Linked DNA regions of Homo sapiens: all the other regions are linked to region 1. The links are contacts of gene promoters, found by promoter capture Hi-C in human tissues and cell types (Jung and others, 2019). All regions are on one chromosome and are shown on one strand. Each heading gives the region's core, a stretch centred on a gene start or on the middle of the fragment in contact. The rest is flanking DNA. Distances are from core to core; before and after follow the strand shown. Region 1 holds the start of SPPL3 (signal peptide peptidase like 3). Region 2 overlaps GATC (glutamyl-tRNA amidotransferase subunit C). Region 3 holds the start of COQ5 (coenzyme Q5, methyltransferase). Region 4 overlaps CAMKK2 (calcium/calmodulin dependent protein kinase kinase 2). Region 5 overlaps P2RX4 (purinergic receptor P2X 4).

Evidence for each region. The method cuts DNA at HindIII sites, captures the fragments that hold promoters and counts their contacts. A contact is called where the count stands out against the background at its distance.
Region 2: a fragment that was not itself captured here is called in contact with the fragment with the promoter of SPPL3 in region 1 in 1 of the 25 tissues and cell types used here (hippocampus).
Region 3: a contact is called between the fragment with the promoter of COQ5 here and the fragment with the promoter of SPPL3 in region 1, in 1 of the 25 tissues and cell types used here (dorsolateral prefrontal cortex).
Region 4: a contact is called between a fragment that was not itself captured here and the fragment with the promoter of SPPL3 in region 1, in 1 of the 25 tissues and cell types used here (dorsolateral prefrontal cortex).
Region 5: a fragment that was not itself captured here is called in contact with the fragment with the promoter of SPPL3 in region 1 in 1 of the 25 tissues and cell types used here (hippocampus).

The regions. Positions count from the first base shown.
Region 1 is chr12:120,901,845-120,906,319 of GRCh38, reverse strand. SPPL3 (signal peptide peptidase like 3) reads left to right here and starts at 1,962. Exons shown (of 11, transcript NM_139015.5): 1 at 1,962-2,475. The coding sequence starts at 2,453. XLOC_009911 (a long non-coding RNA gene) reads right to left here and starts at 1,625. Exons shown (of 2, transcript NR_131215.1): 1 at 1,548-1,625. RefSeq lists silencers at 1,763-2,122, 2,203-2,422, 2,563-2,612. The HindIII fragment of the contact is 15,749 bases long and covers 1-4,475 here.
Region 2 is chr12:120,454,559-120,459,033 of GRCh38, reverse strand. GATC (glutamyl-tRNA amidotransferase subunit C) reads right to left here. Exons shown (of 4, transcript NM_176818.3): 3 at 1,855-1,958. Among named protein-coding and RNA genes, the nearest start is that of GATC, 10 kb to the right of the region's middle. The HindIII fragment of the contact is 8,224 bases long and covers 1-4,475 here.
Region 3 is chr12:120,526,586-120,531,060 of GRCh38, reverse strand. It overlaps COQ5 (coenzyme Q5, methyltransferase), which reads left to right and starts at 1,903. Exons shown (of 7, transcript NM_032314.4): 1 at 1,903-2,121. The coding sequence starts at 1,920. RefSeq lists enhancers at 1,567-2,026, 1,373-2,142, 2,143-2,913. The HindIII fragment of the contact is 25,598 bases long and covers 1-4,475 here.
Region 4 is chr12:121,252,274-121,256,748 of GRCh38, reverse strand. CAMKK2 (calcium/calmodulin dependent protein kinase kinase 2) reads left to right here. Exons shown (of 17, transcript NM_001270485.2): 8 at 945-966; 9 at 1,111-1,199; 10 at 3,277-3,476; 11 at 4,035-4,088. Among named protein-coding and RNA genes, the nearest start is that of CAMKK2, 42 kb to the left of the region's middle. RefSeq lists an enhancer at 656-1,156. The HindIII fragment of the contact is 4,173 bases long and covers 1-4,127 here.
Region 5 is chr12:121,230,921-121,235,395 of GRCh38, reverse strand. It overlaps P2RX4 (purinergic receptor P2X 4), which reads right to left. Exons shown (of 12, transcript NM_002560.3): 9 at 2,889-2,982; 10 at 2,720-2,785; 11 at 2,304-2,399; 12 at 1,290-1,873. The coding sequence ends at 1,847. Among named protein-coding and RNA genes, the nearest start is that of P2RX4, 23 kb to the right of the region's middle. RefSeq lists an enhancer at 1,027-1,654. The HindIII fragment of the contact is 4,980 bases long and covers 736-4,475 here.

The sequences.
Region 1 (4,475 bases), core at 713-3,212:
GCTTTGGAGGAAACACTTGGAACCTAACTGGTCCTGGCACCTGGCAGTGGGGGAATAAGGAAGGAGAGCTTTGCTTCTGAAGGGAAAGTGTACTTGGCTTTCTCTTTAAAGGGTTTCCCTTGGGGAACAGGCAAGCGGCAGATGTATGGGCAATGGCCAACTGATCCATTTGGAGATAGATTCAGGGTGTGGTGTTCCCTGTAAGCCTGGGCAGGCCCTGGGAAACTGGAGCAGAGCTAAATTCTGGCCTAAAGTTGGGCAAGCTGCAGAGAAGCTTGAGTACGTTGGTTTCAGGTGTGTGAGTTTTGCCTTCTGCAGAGAAACAGGGGGGTGAAGGGTGGGGGTGGAGGGGTGTCCAGGAGGGTTAGTGTATCTGTTGCCCAGGCATGTTTCTAAATTCTGAAGCTGCACTGGTTAATCATTTTTATTCATGAACACAGTAACTGGCAAGGAGGCTTAGCTGGGCCCTCAAAGTCTGGCCTCAGTGCACCTTCTCAGTATATTTTCTCAACACTCCAGCACAAATCACCCATCCCACTCTCGGATTCAAGCTCACCAGGAATTGGGCCTTACTTCATGCCATTCTTTCTTTCTAGAATGCCTTTTCTTTTTTTTTTTTCTTTTTCTTTTTCTTTTTCTTTTTTTTTTTTTGAGACAGAGTCTCGCTGTTGCCCAGGCTGGAGTGCAGTGGCGCAATCTCGGCTCACTGCAAGCTCTGCCTCCGGGGTTCACGCCATTCTCCTGCCTCAACCTCCTGAGTAGCTGGGATTACAGGCGTCCACCACCACGCCCGGCTAATTTTTTGTATTTTTAGTAGAGACAGGGTTTCACCGTGTTAACCAGGATGGTCCCGATCTCCTGACCTCATGATCCACCCACCTCGGCCTCCCAAAGTGCTGGGACTACAGGCGTGAGCCACCGCGCCCGGCCAAAAGAATGACTTTTCTTTGATAAGCCTCTCACCCTTTCAGACGGCCTCATCCACTCCTGGGGAAGCATTCCGCAGTACCTGGGGCCTCAATTAATCTCTCTCTTCTCTCTCCATCTAAGCTCCAGATTCACTTTGTTGGTCTCTGGTCTAGCTCTACCGTGTTTATTTCTGTGCCGGTTTCCAGACCTCCAAATGGACGGTTTCCTGAGCCTTCTGCCCTTGCTGTTCCCTCTGCCAGGAACTCTTTTCCTGTGGATCTTTGCAAGGCCAGCTCTCTGTCATCATTCAATATCAGCTCAAATGTCACCTCCTAAGCGAGGCCTTCCTTGACCACCCTATCTAAAGTAACCCACACCTCTGCTCACTCTCTGTCCCCTCACCTTGTGTTACAAAATGTGTTTTTGTAAAACTTAGCAGCATCTGAAATTATCTTATTTGTGGGCTTGGACTATGTCTCTTCCTTTAGAATGTAAGCTCTAGGAAGGCAGAGTGAGTTGACACATGGTTGGCACCCAACAAATATCTGTTGATTGATTCTGTGAAGGCAAGCGTGGGGTATTCGACTTGGTGCCGGGCCTGGGCGCAATAAAGGTTGGCTGCCTGGAATATTTGCTACCTGAATGAATGAACCAAGGAACATACGAACGAAGGAATGCAGCCCTCTGCCTGTTGACTGACAGGTTGACTGACAGTTGGGGGGCCCGTGGCCAGCAGACTGTTGACTGACGGTTGACAGCTGAGTGGCAGCCAACAGACGCGCATCGGGGTTCCCGATTGGCTGGTGCAGCAGCCCCTCGGAGAGGGGCGGAAGAGGGTACCCGAGGCGACATCTCCGCGTGGGGAGGGGGGCGGCACCAGGCAGCGGGAGGCGGCCCAACTGCTCTGGCTGTGCGAGCAGCAGCCGCCTAGAACCCAGGAGCCGACGTCTCTGCGCATGGGCCCGGCTCGAGGGGCGGGGCGCGCATCACGTGAGCGTGTTTTGGGCACGTGACCCGCGCGGGGCCAAGGCTCGCCCCCGCCCCCGCCCCTCCTCCCCTCGGCGGGTGTGATCGAGTGGCCTCGCCTCATCGCCTAGCGCCCCCCTCAGTCGCCGCCGCCTCCGCCCGCCGGCCATGTCCCCCGGCCGCCGCCGCCGCCGCCCGAGCGCGGCGCTCCCGCGGCCCCGCGCGCAGTGAGCGCGGGCCCGTCTTGCCGTTCGCCCGCCCCAGGGCCCCCTTGTTCTCCGCGCCGCCGCCGCCGCCATGTTGGGTTTGGAGCTGCAGCGGAGCCGCCGCCGCCGCCGCGGGTGAGGGAGGCCGAGAGCGGAGCCCGCCCCGCCCCGGGGCCCAGGGAGCGGGGCCGCTTCGGAGCCCGGCCTCTCCCCGCCAGCCGCCTTCCCGGCCCGCCGTGCAGCCAGCGAGCCAGCGAGCGAGCAAGCAAGCAAGCACCGGACCCCGGCCGCGCCTTCAGCTACGGCCCGAGCGAGCCCGCCGCCGCCGGGCCCGGCCACAGCCTGCAGCGGAGCCCACGAGAGGCAGCGCCATGGCGGAGCAGACCTACTCGTGGTGAGTGCGGGGCTCCGGGAGGCCGGGAGGCGGCAAGGGTGGGGGTCGGGGCGCCGGCGCGGCCCGCCGAGGGGAAGAGGAGGAAGAACAGGTGCGTGTCGTGGGGGGGGGGCGCGGGTTGGGGTGCACGCCCCCCTCTTCCCCACCGGAGGGGGCGGCTGGCGCGCACGGAGGGCGGTGAGTGGCCGGGGACCTGGCGTCCGAGAAGGGGAATGGAGGAGGAGGCAGCGGCGGATGTCATCTGGCTATGGGCGGAGCAGGTGATGGAGAAGGGGAGCATGACCCCGGGGGTGGGAATCCCACGGATGGGAAGTTGAATCCGACAGGCACCCCGGAACTGACTCGTGGGGGTGTTTCCTGGGCAGGAGGACTCGAAGGGGTGGAGAGAGGCAGGCCAGGGCAAAGGTGGGCCGCTGGGCTGAGAGGAAGCTCTAGTGAGAACAGGTGATAGAGGCAGAACTTCTAAGTTGGGAGAGTGGAGCGGCCGCCGCTTGGCTCTGGGACAGGGAGCGCAGGGAGAGTTGGTGAGGTGGGCAGAGGCCCGGGAGTGAGGGGAGGAAAACTGCGGGGGTAGAGTCCACGAACCTTGGAGGGGAGTCACTGGTGAAGAGGTTGGAAGAGGAGCCTGAAGAACCTGTTTCCTTTTCCTTCTGGAAAAGGAATTCGTTGGTGACAGTGGGGCATGGGCAGAGTCTTTGTAAGGGTTGGTACTATTATTTTCAGAGGAATGGCGCCCAGGGCCAAGTGTGGAGGTGGAGGACCTGCAAGTTAAGTTCATTTCTGTGGGGCTTTTAAAGTTAGTAAGTAGCTCGTTAAGGGCCGAGAAGCGAGAAGCTACTGTGTAGTTTATGGGGTGACAACCTACATATCCGGAGAAGGGAGTGCCAGGGTTTGGGGGAAGGAACATGAGGGGTCTCCCTTTAGCATGTAGAGGTGGGATATTTGCAGGACGGGTTGAAGGAATGATGGCAGTATCCATGAAGAGTGGAAATCGGGTAGTGAGAAGGAAGTCATAGCTGGAGAGTGAGGAAGCAAGAAATGGCATGATCGTAGGAGTGGGGGACCTGATTGCAATTTAGAGAAATGGTTTGAAGATGGTTTACTCTTGAAGCAAATGTGGTTTGGGACAGAACTGTAGACATTCCCTTCTTAGAAAAGAGCATAATAGAATGGGACGAGCATGCCGTGTGGAGTTGGAAGACCTATTTCGGAGGTCCGGTTTGCCACCAACTTGCTTTGTTGATACGACATGGTAGTGAGTTCTTCGGTCCTTTTTCCTTACCTATAAAATAGAGGGAATTACCTTTTCCACAGCCTGTAAGGATTAAGTGAGTACATTTAGAAAGCACTTGGCAAACTGTGAAGTGCCACAGATCTTACTACATTAATTATAATTATCCTAGAGAAACATCTAAGAAATGGGTAATATCAGAAAATAAGGAATGGTTTTAGGTAGAAGACTTTGAGTGGATTATTTATAGTGTTAGAGGTTATAAGTCAGTAACTCATTGAGTCTTCACATAAGAGAAAGGGAGTTGGGGATTGAAGATGATAATTCTTAAGAGAACTTCATTGATGTATGTGCAATCTCAAGAAGAAGGTAACTGAGAGACAAAGTAACCCTAAAGGAAGAATTAAAATCTTGGTGAACACGTGCTCTAAAAAGAGGTTTAAGCTAATTTCATAGTTTTGCGTGACAGCTGCCTTTCAGTAGCAGGTCGTAGGGAACACAAGATTACAATTTCAGCTTCCTTCTGGACAGAGTAAGAAATGAAGGTAAAGGTGTTTCTGTCATGCCTTGTGGTTACTCATCTTGAGCTTCTCATACTCTGGCCCTAATGGCTGTGGCCCTGAGAGTCCTAATGGCTGCTTTGCTGTTTTTACTGTGCTGTACAGAGGCCCTGGATGGTTGAAAGAATAGAAAACTCAGTGGTCAAGAAATGGGGAAAATGAAAATGTTTTACTAGGTAGGTTGGACACACACGACCTCTCTCTGACAT
Region 2 (4,475 bases), core at 1,891-4,390, 450 kb after region 1:
AAAAAATTAGCCAGGCGTTGTGGTGGGCGCCTGTAGTCCTAGCTACTTGGGAGGCTAAGGCAGGAGAATGGCATGAACGTGGAAGGTGGAGCTTGCAGTGAGCCGAGATCGCGCCACTGCACTCCAGCTTGGGCAACAGAGCAAGACTCCGTCTCAAAACAAACAAAAAGTTTAGCTCACAAAATTTCTAGCTTTCTTTCCCATCCTTGCATCAACCAGAGCCTGCCTTTAACTGGCACCTTAAGCTGACCAGGGCCAATGTCTTCTGTGGAGTCTGCTCAGAATGATTCTCCCTCAGGATATCCTGAACTGGAAGTTGGCACTTAGCAGGCTACCTGATTGCTTTTGGCTAGTCCCACTCCCAGATGCCCAGAGGGGTAGTACAACAGCTCCAAGTATTCACCTACCTGCAGAGGAGATAAAAACAGTCAACCTATCCAAGGTTCTGGATTTTACTGTCAGCCCAGAGTAATTTTAAAGCTTCTATTTAAAATATTTACAGTAGGTAGATGATGCAAATCTCTATACCAGCTGTTGTAAACTGATGGCTCACAGACTGCACCTGGCTTGCAGATGTGTTTTATTTGGCTTGGATGGTATTTTGTTTTTTAAATTTTGAATTGGTTGCTAGCACTTAAAATTTAAGAAATATCGGCGGGGTGCAGTGGCTCACCCCTGTAATCCCAGCACTTTGGGAGGCTGAGGCGGGTAGATCACCAGTTCAAGACTAGCCTGGCCAAGATGGTGAAATCCTGCCTCTACTAAAAATACAAAAATATTAGCCAGGCATGGTGGCAGGCACCTGTAATCCCAGCTACTCGGCAGGCTGAGGCAGAGAATTGCTTGAACCCGGGAGGCAGAGGTTGCAGTGAGTCAAGATTGCACTCCAGCCTGGGTGACCGAGCGAGACTCCATCTCAAAAAAAAAAAAAAAAATTTAAGAAATATCACACAAAATGTCAGGTATCCAGGTTCTCTGGAGAAATGGGTTTACATTCCTGCCTGGCAACACTGATAGGGTAGCAGCCATGCTCCTCCTGCTTTGAATGGGCACAGACTGAGGGCAGACCCTAATGGCGTTTGAATCATGTCATAGGCAAAGATGTGACAGAAACATCTGGGCTAAGGCCACACATGATAACTAAGTTGTCACAATAAGATTCGTTTTGGGAGGCCGAGGTGGGTGGATCACCTGAGGTCGGGAGATCGAGACCATCCTGGCTAACACAGTGAAACCCTGTCTCTACTAAAAATACAAAAAATTAGCCAGGCGTGCTGGTGCATGCCTGTAATCCCAGCTACTGGGGAGCCTGAGCAGGAGAATCGCTTGAACCCGGGAGGTGGAGGTTGCGGTGAGCCGAGATTGCACCATTGCACTCCAGCCTGGGCAACAAGAGCGAAACTCCGTCTCAAAAAAAAAAAAAAAAAAAAAGGATTCTTTTAGGAAAGGACTGGTTTTTTTGTGGTACCCAGCCCAAAGCTAGACCTAACAAATATTTATTCATGGTATGAATACTAGAAAGTTGGAGTCGATTACAGGATCTGGCAGGGTCTTAACTGTGGCTTTGAGAAACACTGAATGCCAGCTGCCCCTTTAGGGAGATCTTGAGCTCCAGATTTCCACCTACTTTAAACCTCCCGCATGCCCCCAATCCTGTTTTGCTTGTTCCTGTTACTAACTGCCCCCTAGAGGTGAGTATGACCCTGGACCCTACTGCCACCTTAATGCCACCATCTGTATGCACTTCATCCTTTTCAAAGTGCCTTCACATAGCATCTTTGGTCCTCATGCTTCCTGCTTCATTCCTAAGGTTACTGTGAGACTATCTGTTAAACCATTCTGGGCAGCACGTACCTGGGGGGGCCACAAAGTACTCCTCCACGACGCGATGGGAGTTTTGTAGTAATTCATCAGCACAGTTGCCTTCTACCACATTGTCGGATCTCAGGTATAGACATCTACAAAACCCAGAAGCTCAAGGTTACCCTCTCAGAGAAGGGGGCTTTTAGGGGATGATGGAGAGGGGCAAGAAGGAGAGAACAAGGAAGCAGTATATTCTTGAGTTAATGGGCACTGTTCAAAGATAGAGAAGCTGGGATCAACAGTAGACCAAATAACAGCCTACAGTTTATAGATTGACCGAACAACCCTGAGAAGTAAGTGCTAATTACTTCTCTGGATTGATTTAACAAATAGTTTTTGATGATTATATGGGCAACTGTCTTTTGGTGGGGACAGGTAAAAGCAATTACAAAAACAATATTTTAAATCTAACAGAGGTTAGTACAGCCTGCCAAAGGATAGAAAGGGTACCTAGTCCAGCCTGCGTGAGTAGCACATCCTCAGAATAGCTGATGTCACTGTTCAAGGATGGGCAAGAAATAGCTGGATTGGGGGATGAAGGTATGAGAAATGGACTTCCTGGCACGTATAGCAGCATGAATCCCAAAGCAATAGAGCCGAGAGCTCAGAGATTCAGAGAAGGACAGGGAGTTTAGCAGGCTGGGGTGTGGTCTGCCGGGGTGGAAGATGAAGCTGGAAAGCTAAGCAGAGATGGGGAAGCAAACTTGCCACAAGAGTAACTTAAGGATGTTGGCTGCTAAGTAACAACTGGGATCTCAGCCCAATCTGATACACCTAAAATGAATGCTTTTTCCACCACAGCCACTTTGGTGGATGTGCCTGCCCTTGAGCAAGATGTGCCACCAACAGCTCAAGAATCTCCCAGTGTTCTGTGGGACCTAGTGACTTTACTAAAGCCTTCAGATGGCAAACCGGTAAAAAACACACAAGAGCTTGAACATTTGCATGAGGCTTCACTATTGTTTCAAGGTGTAAAAGTGTGTAAGCCTGCTTCCAGATACTTAGATTAAAAAAATAAGCAGTCTGTTAAATCACTGATATGGTATTCGGTAGTAGCCACGCTCCTCCTGCTTTGAGTGGGCACAGACTGAGGGCAGACCCTAATGGCGTTTGAGTCATGTCAGAGAGGGACAAAGATGTGACAGGTACATCTGGGCTAAGGCTGCACATAAGAACTAAGTTGTCAGCCGGGCGCGGTGGCTCACGCCTGTAATCCCAGCACTTTGGGAGGCCGAGGTGGGCGGATCACGAGGTCAGGAGATCGAGACCATCCTGGCTAACACGGTGAAACCCCATCTCTACTAAAAATACAAAAAAATTAGCCGGGCGTGGTGGTGGGCGCCTGTAGACCCAGCTACTTGGGAGGCTGAGGCAGGAGAATGGCGTGAACCCGGGAGGCGGAGCTTGCAGTGAGCCGAGATCGCGCCACTGCACTCCAGCCTGGGCGACAGAGCGATACTCTGCCTCAAAAAAAAAGAGAACTAAGTTGTCACAATAAGATTATTTTAGGAAAGGACTAGTTCTTTTTTTGTGGCACCCAGCCCAAAGCTAGACACAACAAATATTTACTCATGGTATGAATATTAGAAAGTTGAAGTCTGTTACAGGACCTGGCACATTCTTAACTGTGTGGCCTTGAACAAGTATGATCTTTTCAGACATTAAATTTCTTGGAGGGGGGCGGCGGGGTGTGGGGGAGAAAGGCCAGGTGTGGTGGCTCTTGCATGTAATCCCAGCACTTTGGAAGGCTAAGGCGGGTGGATCACCTGAATTCAGGAGTTCAAGACCAGCCTGGGCAACGTGGGGAAACCACATCTCTACTAAAAATACAAAAACTAGCCAAGCGTGGTGGCACGCACGTGTGATCCCAACTACTCGGGAGGCTGAGGCGGGAGAATCGCCTGAACCCAGGAGGCGGAGGTTGCAGTGAGCTGAGATGGCACCACTGCACTCAAGCCTGGGCGACAGAGCAAGAAGAAAAAAAAAAAGGCCAGGCACAGTGGCTCAAGCCTGTAATCCCAGCACTTTGGGAGGCCAAAGCAGGTGGATCACCTGAGGTCAGGAGTTCGAGACCATCCAATATGGTGAAACCCTGTCTCTACTAAAAATATAAAAGTTAGCCGGGCATGGTGGTACATACCTGTAATCCCAGCTACCTGGGAGGCTGAGGCACAAGAATCACTTGAATGTAGGAAGCAGAGTTTGTAGTGAGCGGAGATCACACCACTGCACTCCAACCTGGGTGACAGAGTGAGACAGTGTCTCACACACACACACACAAAAGAGAGTTGTACTAGATTTTTTTTTTTTTTTGAATAACACAAGGACTGTATTCATTTAAGAAAACTTGGGAGAACAAAAGTAAAATAAAAATCATAATTATACTATTCAAAGGTAACCCTTGGACTTTCTGGAGTTTATAGTTTCTGTTGGACAGTATTAAAAAATGGCTAAGAGGCCGGGCGCGGTGCCTCATGCCTGTGATCCCAGCACTTTGGGAGACTGAGGCGGGCAGATCACGAGGTCAGGAGATCAAGACCATCCTGGCTGACAGGGTGAAACCCCGTCTCTACTAAAAATACAAAAAAAAAAAAATTAGCCAGGCGTGGTGG
Region 3 (4,475 bases), core at 654-3,153, 380 kb after region 1:
GGGAGGCTGAGGCAGGTGGATTACCTGAAGTCAGGAGTTCAAGACCAGCCTGGCCAATATAGCGAAACCCCATCTCTACTAAAAATACAAAAATTAGCCTGGCATGGTGGCGCATGCCTGTAATCCCAGCTACTAGGGAAGCTGAGGCAGGAGGATCACTTGAACCCAGAAGACAGAGGTTGCAGTGAGCCGAAGTCATGCCACTGCACTCCAGTCTGGGCAACAGAGCAAGACGCTACCTCAAAAAAAAAATACCTTCCAACAGTCCTTGTCCTACTTCACTTTTTACAGGTTTTCCTCCACATATCATATGAAATAAGAGAACAGTGAAATACTGTTGGTCTGGATACTTAATCTGATGTGCAGAAGGAACAGCCCTAAATCCTGAGATCCATTCTTTTATATAACTAGATATGGAAGATATAAGATTCTTTGATGAGACTTTATTTATTTATTTATTTATTTATTTATTTATTTTTGAGATGGAGTCTGGCTCTGTCACCCAGGCTTGAGTGCAGTGGTGCAATCTCAGCTCACTGCAACCAGTGACTCCTGGGTTGAAGGGATTCTCCTGCTTCAACCTCCTGAATAGCTGGGACTACAGGTGTGCACCACCATGCCTGGCTGATTTTTGTATTTTAGTAGAGACGGGGTTTCACCATGTTAGCCATGCTGGTCTCGAACTCCTGACCTCATGCAATCCGCCCACCTCGGGCTCCCAAAGTGTTGGGATTACAGGCGTGAGCCACCGCACCCAGCCACTTAATTTCTTTTAACAAAGACATGAGAATTATGAATACATGGATGAATCATTTCGCCCTTGTATCCTTCCTTTTTTTTTTCTCATCACTATACCAACGAGGACCTTCTATCATTCTTAAAATAAAAGAGAAAGAAACAGAAATCCCAGCGCAGTACTTCCCAAACGAAAGCGGTTAGGTGTCCATCTGTCAGGCTATATTAAACCAGGAAGAGAATTTTCATTTCAAAACAGTTTCTTCTATTGGCGCTTTCTCCTCGTGAAATATTTACAGGAAACATACATTTAAAATGGAATGAAAGCAGAAACATACAGTAATCCAAGCAAAACTCAACAACGTCCGTTCTTTATTTTGCACAAGACGGTCTGCATTACCCTTGCCATTAAAAAAAGACTGAAAATCTGGGGCTGAAGTAAAACACCCATGACATGCCACCTGGAGCTAGGAATGTAGCTTTGTGTCAGCAGGAGACCAAGTGTGAGTGGTGGTTCTGGCTTGCTAAGTGGATACCAGAGCTTTCGTTCCCATTTATGAGCTTCCTAGGTTCATAAAACGGACAGAACAAAGAAGTCTGTCCTATGTTTATTTTTCAGAGTAGTGTAACATATGTTTCTCAAGAATGGTCTGCATCTTTAGCATCAGAATCGCCAGAGAAATTTGTTTAAATAGAGATTAAAGGGATATAGGTCAGATCAAAATCTCTGGTAGTTGGGGACCCAGGAATCTTCATTTTAAAACGTAAACCAAGTGATTCTTACGCTCAACAAAGTGTGCAGGAATTGGCCCGTGATCTTGGCTTTTTAACCACACCATGCCTCAATTTCCCCCTTCTGCACAAGACAACAAGAGTTCCTGGATATCTTGCGAGTTAGTACTTTTCTGCCTAGCCGGATTCAGAGACATGGCCGCTAAGAGGTGACCCGGGGCTCCCCTGAGATCCCCTGATTCCTGGTGAATTGTAAATTCAATTTGAGAAGAGAGAGAGGAAGGGATTTCCGATACTTAGAGACCACCCTTTGGATCCTAGAGATAATGCCGGCACAACTGTGTATCAGATTTCAGGGCGCGTTCGGCTAATAATGTTGCCGGCCAGCCGCCGTCGTTCGTGGAGTGACGCAACAAGGCGTACTCTCTGGCCGTTGTCACTCGACTACCAAGATGGCGGCCCCCGGGAGCTGTGCTCTATGGAGCTATTGCGGCCGTGGGTGGTCGCGGGCGATGCGGGGCTGCCAGCTCCTCGGGCTTCGTAGCTCTTGGCCCGGGGACCTACTAAGTGCTCGGCTCTTGTCCCAAGAGAAGCGGGCAGCGGAAACGCACTTTGGGTTTGAGACTGTGTCGGAAGAGGAGAAGGGGGGCAAAGGTGAAAGGGGCGAGAGGGCGGATGGGAGGGATCTGACCGTCCATGGTCTGGTTTCTTCTGGCCAGTTAGGGTTGATTTAACATCCAATTAGTTCCAGTGTTGTTGTCTGTGCAGTTATGATTTTTTTTTTTTTTGGAGACAGAATTTCGCTCTTGTTGCCCACACTGGAGTGCAATGGTCCGATCTTGGCTCACTGCAACCTCCGCCTCCCGGGTTCAAGCGATTCTCCTGCCTCAGCTTCCCGAGTAGCTGGGATTACAGGCGCCCGCCAGCACGCCCGGCTAACTTTTTTGTATTCTTACTAGAGATGGGGTTTCACCAGGCTGGTCTCGAACTCCTGACCTCAGGTGATTCGCCTGCCTCGGCCTCCCAAAGTGCTGGGATTACAGGCGTGAGCCACCGCGCCCAGCCAGACGCCCCCTTTTTAAAAGCAGAATACTGATGACTAAATCCCATCAACTGAGCGTTTGTGATGTGCCAGGCAACGTACAGACATTATTTTCAATTCTCATTTTCAACATTCCAGTAGTGGGTATTGTTATTACCATATTACACGTGAGGAAATTGAGACTTAAAGGTTAAGCAAGAAGTTGCCCAGTTGAACATATCAGTAAGTGGCGGAACCAGTATTCAAACCCAGTTTAATCTGAGTCTGAAGCCCCCGTTCTTTACCTCTAGAGAAAAATAGGGGTTTTTTTGGTTGTTTTTATTTATTTATTTATTTATTTATTTATTTTGAGACGGAGTTTCGCTCTTGTTGCCCAGGCTGGAGTGCAATGGCGCAATATGGGCTCACTGCAACCTCAGCCTCCTAGGTTCAAGCGATCCTCCTGCCTCAGCCTCCTGAGTAGCTGGGATTACAGGCATCTGCCACTGTGCCCTGCTAATTTTTGTATTTTCAGTAGAGACGGGGTTTCTTTTTTTTTTTTTTTTTTTTTTTTTTTTTTTTTTGAGACTGAGTCTCTCTCTGTCACCCCCAGGCTGGAAGGCAGTGGCGCGATCTCGGCTCACTGCAAGCTCCGCCTCCTGGCTTCACGCCATTCTCCTGCCTCAGCCTCCCGAGTAGCTGGGACTACAGGGGCCCGCCACCATGCCCGGCTAATTTTTTGTATTTTTTTTTTAGTACAGACAGGGTTTCACCATGTTAGCCAGGATGGTCTGGATCTCCTGACCTCGTGATCCACCTGCCTCGGCCTCCCAAAGTGCTGGGATTACAGGCATGAGCCACCACACCGGCCAATGTATAATCAACATTTTACAATGTATAATCAATGTATAATCAACATTTCACACAGTGGCAAGCAAGGAAGAAGTTAACTACTGAACTAAATATGAATTCCAGATTGGGGACTGAGATTGCAGTACAGACAGTCCTCGCTGTGCACAGTAATGCAAGACTGTGAAAATGTGCAAGCTGAAGTCATACACAATGACCTTAATCAATGGGAAAAATTAGAATTGTTTTATGACCTTTAAAAATTATCAACCATCAAAAACCCTGTCAGTTATAAATGTATAGTGAAATGAAAAAATATATACTGAAGTTGATATTTATTTACAGCCAGGTGCGATGGTTCACACCTGTAATCCCAGCACTTTGGGAGGCCGAGGTAGGCACTTGAAGTCAGGAGTTCGAGACCAGCCTGGCCAACGTGGTGAAACCTCATCTCTACTAAAAATACAAAAAAAATTAGCCAAGCATGGTGACGCACGCCTGTAATCACAGCTAATTAGGAGGCTGAGGCAGGCAAATTTCTTGAACCTGGGAGGTGGACGTTGCAGTGATCTGAGATTGTGCCACTGCACTCTAGCCTGGGCGACACAGTGAGACTGTCTCAAAAACAAAGAAAAAAAATTCTAATAAAAAATTAGAAACCTTGAGAATTAAATTCTTTTATTTCCTTGTAAAAAAATTGCCAAGAGTAGGCTGGGCGCAGTGGCTCACGCCTGTAATCCCAGCACTTTGAGAGGCCGAGGCGGGTGGATCATGAGGTCAGGAGATTGAGACCATCCTGGCTAACACGGTGAAACTCCGTCTCTACTAAAAATACAAAAAAATTAGCCGGGCATGGTGGCGGGCGCCTGTAGTCCCAGCTACTCCGGAGGCTGAGGCAGGAGAATGGCATGAACCCGGGAGGAGGAGCTTGCAGTGAGCCGAGATCCTGCCACTACACTCCAGCCTGGGCGACAGAGCAAGACTCTGTCTCAAAAAAAAAAAAAAAAAAAAAAAAAAAAAAAAAATTGCCAAGAGTAGTTTGAGCACTATTTGCCACCTTCTTGTCGTATGAAATATCTTTTCTATGCCTTGGCAAATTGCCATATTTCTTTCTAAGTTTTTATCTACTTCTGATATT
Region 4 (4,475 bases), core at 792-3,291, 350 kb before region 1:
TAAAGGGAATGAAGCACTGATCCATGCACCAGTGTGGATGAACCTTAAAAACGTGCTAATGATGCTAAGTGAAAGAAGCCAGACACAAAAGGCCACATAGTGTACAATTCCATTTATATGAAATGTCCAGAACAGGCAAATCTATAGAGACAGGAAACAGATTGGTGGTGGCCAGGGGATTGAGGGAGGGAAGAATAGGGAGTGACTGCTAATGGGTATGAGGTTTTCTTTTGAGGTGATGAGAATGTTCTGGAACTAGATAGTTGTGATGATTGCCCAAAATTGTGAATATACTAAATGCCACTCAATTGCACGCTTTAAAATGGGTAATTTTATGTTACGTAAATTTCATCTCAAAGAAATTTTTTTTTTGGGACATTCTTGCTCTGTTGCCCAGGCTAGAGTGCAGGGGTGCAATCTTGGCTCACTGCAACCTCCGCTGTCCAGGTTCAAGTGATTCTTGTGCCTCAGCCTCCCAAGTAGCTGGGATTACAGGCACCTGCCACCACGCCCGGCTGATTTTTGTATTTTTAGTAGAGATAGGGTTTTGCCACGTTGGCCAGGCTGGTCTCGAGCTCTTGACCTCAGGTGATTCGCCCACCTCGGCCTCCCAGAGTGTTGGGATTACACTGGCGTGAGCCACCGTGCCCAGCCCCCTGCCGTGTTTTCTTTGACCAGTGGATCCTGGGCCAATTTGAGCACTAGAAGTCAAGCCAGACTGTGGGCCTGGGGACGTCAGAAATCCCTGGTTCTTTGCCTTCTGATGGAAATTTAGCAAAGCAGGACCTTGGCCAGCTTGGTTCAGTGGACTGTTCCTCTCCCCAGCTCTAATACTAGTTTCTGTCTTTCTTGGTGTTTCTGGAGGTGGTTGGGAGGTGGGGAGGACAGAGAGAGATGGATGTTCAGTTTCCCATGTAACAGTTTCACCCTTTTCTTCCCTACAGTGTTCGAACTGGTCAACCAAGGGTGAGTGTCCCAGCTCCCAGCAGGGGTGATGCAAGAAGCTTCTGTAGCTGCATAGCTGAGTGAGGTGCCACTGGGCTCTGCTCATGAGAGAGGGCAAGGGCTGGCGGGTCTGCTTTGTGTTTCACATGAGTGTCGACCTTTCAGGCCCGTGATGGAAGTGCCCACCCTCAAACCACTCTCTGAAGACCAGGCCCGTTTCTACTTCCAGGATCTGATCAAAGGCATCGAGTACTGTGAGCAGGGCCTGCGGGAGGGCTCTCACCCAGTGGGTAGTTAGCATTCTGAGCGTGGGTGCAAAGTGGAAAGTGTCTTATTTTCTTCCTGGAGCACAGGGAGGTGGGCGGGTGGATTGGGGTCCTCTAGAGGGACAGAACTAATAGGAGATACATATATATATATAAAATTATATATATAAAATTATATATATAATTATATATATAAAATTATATATAATTATATATATATAAAATTATATATAAAATTATATATATAATTATATATATAATTATATATATATAAAATTATATATATAATTATATATATATAAAATTATATATATATAAAATTATATATATAATTATATATATAAAGGGGAGTTTATTAAGTATTAACTTACACGATCACAAGGTCCCACAATATAGTCTGTCTGCAAGCTTGAGGAGCAAGGAGAGCCCATCTAACTCTCAAAACTAAAGAACGTGGAGTCTGACGTTTGAGGGCAGGAAGCATCCAGATAGGAAAAAAACATAGGCTGGGAGGCTAGGCCAGTCTCACCTTTCACGTTTTTCTGCCTGCTTTATATTCGCTGGCAGCTGATTAGATTGTGGGTCTGCCTTCCCCAGCCCACTGACTCAAATGTTAATCTCCTTTGGCAACACCCACACAGACACATCCAGGATTAATACTTTGTATCCTTCAGTCCAATCAAGTTGACACTCAGTATCAACCATCATAGTGGGAAACAGAATTGTGTGAAATGCAGAATCAGGGCCAGCTGCAGAGAGCCACCCTATGGCCATGGTCCAGGCGAGCCAAAACCCTTCTTCCTGCCACTTGGCAAAATGAAGAGCAGTAGCAATAGTGACTATTTAGCACTTTCTATGTGCACCAGGCACTGTTTGGGGCTCTATTTTTTTTGTCTCTTATTCCTCCCAGTGACCCTGGGATCAGGGTCCTGTTCACCTCCTGGAACCTTAGCTTCCTCATCTGTAAAATGGGGATAACATATCTCTCACCAGGGCTGAGATCAGCCAGTACACATCAGTGGTTTGATTGGCAGGTGTCCTTTCTGCTTCTGCTTGTTAAACATCTTAGCTCTTTTTTTCCTTTGAGATTCTTGCCCTGTTGCCTGGGCTGGAGTGCAGTGGCGCGATCTCAGGTCACTGCAACCTCTGCCTCCTGGGTTCAAGCAATTCTCATGCCTCAGCCTCCCAAGTAGCTGGGACTACAGGTGTACGCCACCATGCCCGGCTAATTTTTGTATTTTTTGTAGAGATGGGGTTTCGCTATGTTGGCCAGGCTGGTCTTGAACTCCTGACCTCAGGTGATCCCCCTGCCTTGCCTCCCAAAGTGCTGGGATGACAGGCGTGAGCCACCGTGCCCGGCCACCACGTTATCTCTTATCCCTGCCTGTCACATAGGATGGTTGTGAGGTTTAATTAAATGTAAAATGTGAATGTGAAACACAACGCAGGGCCGGGCCCCTCACTTGGTGCTCTGCTGCTGCTTTCACTGAAATCGTCTTCATCATCATCATCACCCCAGAAATGGCAGTTGGGTCTTCCAGGCCATAGAACTGTCCTGTACCATGGGCTGATATCCAGCCAGGAGGAGTTAGCCAAGCCCCGAGTTCTGTGTGTGGTTCACATTTCAAATCGGCCTGCTCAGGTCATTGTCGGTTTGGTAAATCAGTTGAGTATTGGCTGTTGGTAAATGAAACTATGTTTCACTGTCAGTTTCACAACTAGCTGTGAGCCAAGCCCAGCAAAAACTTTCCATGCACTGTCACTTGTGACTTAATAAATAACAGGCGATTACGAATTGCTATTGGCAGTGTTTTATGTGTCATTGTTGAGAAGGGGTGGGGTGATGGTGGGCTGGGACTTCCTTGAAGACACTTTTCCCCTCATCTTTTAGAGCATGTCAGTGCCCAGCGGGTTTGGGGAGTGGAAGGTTGGAAAAGGCCTGGGGCTGTGGGAGACAAGGCATCAGAGGGGTGCCATGCCTGTGTCTCCAGGCCATGTGGCCGCATAGAGGTGCTCACGAGGTTTTCCTGCCCCTATCTCCCACCTGCTGTCTACGCCTCCCCAGTACACTACCAGAAGATCATCCACCGTGACATCAAACCTTCCAACCTCCTGGTCGGAGAAGATGGGCACATCAAGATCGCTGACTTTGGTGTGAGCAATGAATTCAAGGGCAGTGACGCGCTCCTCTCCAACACCGTGGGCACGCCCGCCTTCATGGCACCCGAGTCGCTCTCTGAGACCCGCAAGATCTTCTCTGGGAAGGTAAGCTTGGGCCTGCCTCAGCCACAGAGTTCTGCCTGTGTTAGTGTCTTCTGGATTGTAAGCAGCAGAAACCCAACGCACACAGGCTTAAACAGTGAATCCCCTGGATCAAGATACTGAGGGGTAGGCTTCAGGCTTGGCTAGATCCAGGGACTCAAACAGAAACCATCTCCCGCCATCTTTCAGTTGTTTTTCTTATTTGGTTTCCTCCACAGGTGGGTCAGGCACCCAGGGACCAGGTTACTTTCTATCATTTGCCAACCTCAGTGGCAAGAGCATTCCTCATTCTGAATAGTGCCTGTGAAAACCCTGGGGTTGGCTCTGATTGGCCCAACATGGGTCATGTGCCCATGCTTGAACCAATCACTGTGGCTGGGGGTAGTGGTGCTCTCATTGGCCTGGCCTGGATCCTGTGCCTGCCCCAGAGCCTAGGAGACAAGATTGGTCCCGCCCCAACTCCAAGGGCTGAAAGTCAAGAGGTGGTTCCCCAAAGGAAAACTGGAGGATTGGAGGCTGGACCACCCCTTATGCCCTCACACTAAGCTCTTTTTCTTGCAGGCCTTGGATGTTTGGGCCATGGGTGTGACACTATACTGCTTTGTCTTTGGCCAGGTAAGAGGGCGGGGTGTCTGTCCCCTCAGTACTGCTGGGTGGCCCCTGGGTTAATAGTCACCCTTGCGGGGAGACAGTACTTACTTATTTAAGAGTTATTTTAGGCTGGGCATGGTGGCTCACGCCTGTAAACCCAGCACTTTGGGAGGCTGAGGCAGAGGTTAGGAGTTGGAGACCAGCTTGGCCAACATGGTGAAACCCCGTCTTTACTAAAAATACAAAAAATTAGCCAGGCGTGATGGCGCATGCCTATAGTCCCAGCTACTCTGGAGGCTGAAGCAGGAGAATCGCCTGAACCCAGGAGGCGGAGCTTGCAGTGAGCTGAGATTGCACCATTGTATTCCAGCCTGGGCAACAAGAGCGAGACTCCGTCTCAAAAAATAAAAT
Region 5 (4,475 bases), core at 1,976-4,475, 330 kb before region 1:
TGGTTCCTCTCAGTACTTGGAAGTGAATTCATGGCAGAGGCGAAGGGCAAACTGCTTCCTCTAGGGGGATTCTGAATACCTGATGCAGAATTCAGCTGGTGTGTGGCTGGGTGCAGTGGCTCACGCCTGTAATCCCAGCACTTTGGGAGGCTGAGGCGGTGGATCATGAGGTCAGGAGTTCCAGACCAGCCTGGCCAACATGGTGAACCTCTGTCTCTACTAAAAATACAAAAATTAGCTGGGTGTGGTGGCAGATGCCTGTAATCCCAGCTACTTGGGAGGCTGAGGCAGGAGAATTGCTTGAACCCAGGAGGCAGAGGTTGCAGTGAGCCGAGATCATGCCACTGCACTCCAGCCTGGGCAATAGGGCAAGACTCTGTCTCAAAAACAAAAAAACACAAACATTTAGTTGGTGTGAAGCTGCAGCTGGAAATAGCTTCATGAACATTTCGAACCTGTGCGGAGCTAGGTATGCGTGCTGCTGCTTTTGGTTGGAGACTTTTGGGAAGCAAACAGGGAAGGGAGAGGAAGCCACTTCCATGTTACCAAAAATTGTGTTACCCACAGCATAGAATTGTAATTTTATGTCAAAATGGAGGCACAGGTAAGATGTCACTAGAGAAAAAGTGTCCTGTGAACTGTGCAGGAAGACAAGCTAATGACAAATTATTAGGCTTTAAAAAGTAGGCAGCTGGGTGCAGTGGCTCATGCTTGTAATCCCAGCACTATGGGAGGCTGAGGTAGGAGGATCGCTTAAGCCCAGGAGGTGGAGACTGCAGTGAGCAGTGATTGCGCCACTGCACTCCAGCCTGGGTAATAAAAAAAATAAATAGGCCAGGTGTGGTGGCGCACACCTGTAATCCAATCACTTTGAGAGGCTAAGGCAGATGGATCATTTGAGGTCAGGAGTTCGAGACCAGCCTGGCTGGCCAATGTGGTGAAACCCTGTCTCTACTAAAAATACAAAAATTAGCCGGGCATGGTGGCATGCACCTGTAATCCCAGCTACTCGGGAGGCTGAGGCAGGAGAATCGCTTGAACCCGGGAGGCAGAGGTTGCAATGAGCCGAGATTGCACCACTGCGCTCCAGCCTGGGCGACAGAGTGAGACTCTGCCTCAAAAATAAAATAAATAAATAAAGAAGTAGGGGAAAATGTGCATAAGTGCCAGAAACAGACCATCCCATGGACCTTTTCTGAGCACAGTGAGCCGGAATAGTGGATTTACTGGTTGTCGTAAAAGGGTAGGAAGGAAAGTTCTAGCACATGCTATGAGACAACAGACAGGGATTAAGAAAATCACGCTTTAATGTCTGGTCCTCGATCACCTTAGCACAGCGCTTCTCTGAGGAGAAATGCCAGCTCTGCCGCATGGCTGCAGGGAATGGTCGGGGGGAAGCCTGCAGCCCAGGCCTGCTACAAGTCTAGTGACTGCAGCCAGGCGGCCTCCCCTGCCGCATAAAGTGCTTGAACAGAGCCGCCGTGCCTCAGAGGACTGGGCCTGTCCTGGAGAGAGCTGGAGACAGGAGGCTTCTGAGCAAAGCCAGCTCCAGCCCTGAAAGCCACAGCAGTGCCACTGCGTCGGGCCAGCGCTCCCCCGACAACCCCAGGTTGCGGGAAAAGCAGAGTTGACCCAGCCAAGAACAGACTGCTGACCTCCTGGGCCGAGTGGGCAAACAGATCCTGCACACAACACACAGGAGCTGCTGGGGAACCCTGAGTGCTTGTGGAGTGGAGACTCAATCAGATTCCAGAAATTTCTCTGGGGTGATGTGGTGGCCATTTCTCCCTCCTCCTCCTCTCTGTTCTTTGATGGGGCTGTGGAGAGCCCAGGTGTGGGGTAGGCCTCACTGGTCCAGCTCACTAGCAAGACCCTGCAAAGAAGGACACAAGCAGATCAAGGTGCCCCTGGGACCCCTTGTGGCAGGCGGGAGGGAGGTGCGCTCCTGGGACTTCACCGCCAGGGGTTCTCAAGTTGGTCCCAGGCCTGGAACCCAACCCTTCCTGTTCCGCAAGGTGCACTGAAGTAGTGTGTGCCCACAGGCATTCTCAGAGCATGCATTATCATCACCAACCTGAGATGTCGCTCATTGAAACGAGGCTGGGTTTAAAGAGTCAATCTAGTACAGGGGCCTAGGGATGGAGCAGCTGCTGAGAGTGGCAGGACTGCCCGGGTTAACGGGGACACCACGCCACACTGGTGCCAGCCTCTGCAGAAGGGCCTCCCCAGACAGGCCCACGCCCAGGGCTCCCACACCCAAGAGATGAGAGGCCTGTGCCTGCTGGGGGCCAGGAGGGGCCTACCTGCTCGTAATCTTCCACATATTTATATTTCTTCTCCCGATAGTAGAGTCTTTTCTTCATGCAGTAGAGGACTATGATGTCACACAGCACGGTCGCCTGAGTTTAGCATAGGGTGAGAGTGAGCCAGGATGCTTGCAACCCATCAACCCATCTTATTCTTTGCGTGCCCCTTCCTGAGAAGCCTGGAATCTTTACCGGAATGGAAAGGCACTCCCATCTCTTGGGAGAAGGCTGGGACCTGAGGGGGGTGGTCTTGGAGAAGGGAAGGTGGGAGGAGGGCTGGGGGCCAAGGGAAAGAAGGTAGGAGGGTCAAGTTTAGAAACACATCTGAGGTCTAGGGCCTAGGGCCAGGACCAGGACCCCAGCCCAGGGTCTCACCTCACCGTGAGGGTGAAGGCAGGGCCTAAACCACTCACCATGCCTAGCAGTGCCAGGCCAGAGCCGATGTTGATCATAGTGGGGATGATGTCAAATTTCCCTGCCTGCCAAGACACCGAAAAAGAAAAAAAGTGTTTCTGCAGGGGCAGGGAGAGGCCCCTTGTCCCTGCAGGGAGTGACGGAGGGGAGCCAGTGGCGGCGAGCTACCTTCCCAAACACAATGATGTCGAAGCGGATGCCATAGGCCTTGATGAGCGTGCGCTGCTCGTTGCCAGCCAGGTCTCTGTAGTACTTGGCAAACCTGAGGGGAAGGAGGATGGATCAGGGGGAGATGGCTGGGGCAGGACCTTGGGCCCTGTGAGAGAACGTTAGAGTGGAGCTGGCACAGGTGAATGGTCCACTCTGCCGGCTGAATGGACGCTGGAGCGGCTCGGGGCCTCTCCTGGCTGAGGCGGGCTGTGCAAGCAGGAGGATGCGGGGCCCACGAGGTACAGGGGCACAGGGAGACCTCCTCCTCCAGCACCAGTGTCCTCTCCTGAACCTGAACAGTTTGCTCTCAACATCCCACCTGGTACATCCTGCCTGCCTCCCTCAAGGGACCCTGACCTCCAACATCTAACAGTAAGAATGTGACCAGCCAGCATTGCAGGAGGGGACTAAGCCAGCCCCAACACAGCATCAGTGCAGGGACTTTTTTTTTTTTTTTTTTTGAGATGGAGTCTCCCTCTGTTGCCAGGCTGGAGTGTAGGGGCACCAATCTTGGCTCACTGCAACCTCCACCTCCCCAGTTCAAGCAATTCTTCTGCCTCAGCCTCCCGAGTAGCTGGGACTACAGGCGCACACCACCATGCCCAGCTAATTTTTGGATTTTTTAGTAGAGACGGGGTTTCACCAAGTTGGCCATGATGGTCTCAATCTCTTGACCTAGGGCTTTTTAAATTTATTTATTTTTTCAAAGAAACATTGATTCTGTGCACACAGTCTTCAACAACAACAACAACAACAAAAAGAACCACTCGTTCGTCACACAGATAAAGAGATGAACAAAACGTCGTCTGTCAACACAGCAGAATATGATTTGGCCATAAAAAGAGACGAGGTACTGACACAGGCTACGACATGGATGAAGCTTGAAAACATCAGGCTAAGGGGAAGGAGCCAGACGCAAAAGGCCACATATTGATTATATGAAATGCTCAGAAGAGGCACATCTGCAGAGACAGAAAGTAGACCACTGTTGCCAGGGGCCGGGGGATGACAGAAGGGTGCAGGGTTTCTTTTTGAGATGACGGAAATGTTCTAAAATCGACTGTGGTGAAGCCTGCACTTATCTGTGAATATAGTGAAAACTATGAATTCTGCACTTCAAATGTGTGAACGGTATGGCATGTGAATTGCATCTCAGTAAGACCATTTAAAAATATATGGCTGGGTGCGGTGGCTCACACCTGTAATTCCGGCACTTTGGGAGGCCGAGGCAGGTGGATCACTTGAGGTGAGGAGCTCGAGACCACCCTGGCCAATGTGGAGAAACCCCGTCTCTAATAAAAATACAAAAAATTAGCTGGGTGTGGTGGCGGGCGCCTGTAATCCCAGCTACTCAGGCGGCTGAGGCAGGAGAATGTCTTGAACCCGGGAGGCAAAGGCTGCAGTGAGCTGAAATCGCACCACTGCACTCCAACCTGGGTGACAGAGCAAGTCACTCCCTTAAAAAAGAAGAAAAAAAAAAAAATATATATATATAATGGCTATATATATAATGGCTATATATATATATACACATATATACATATA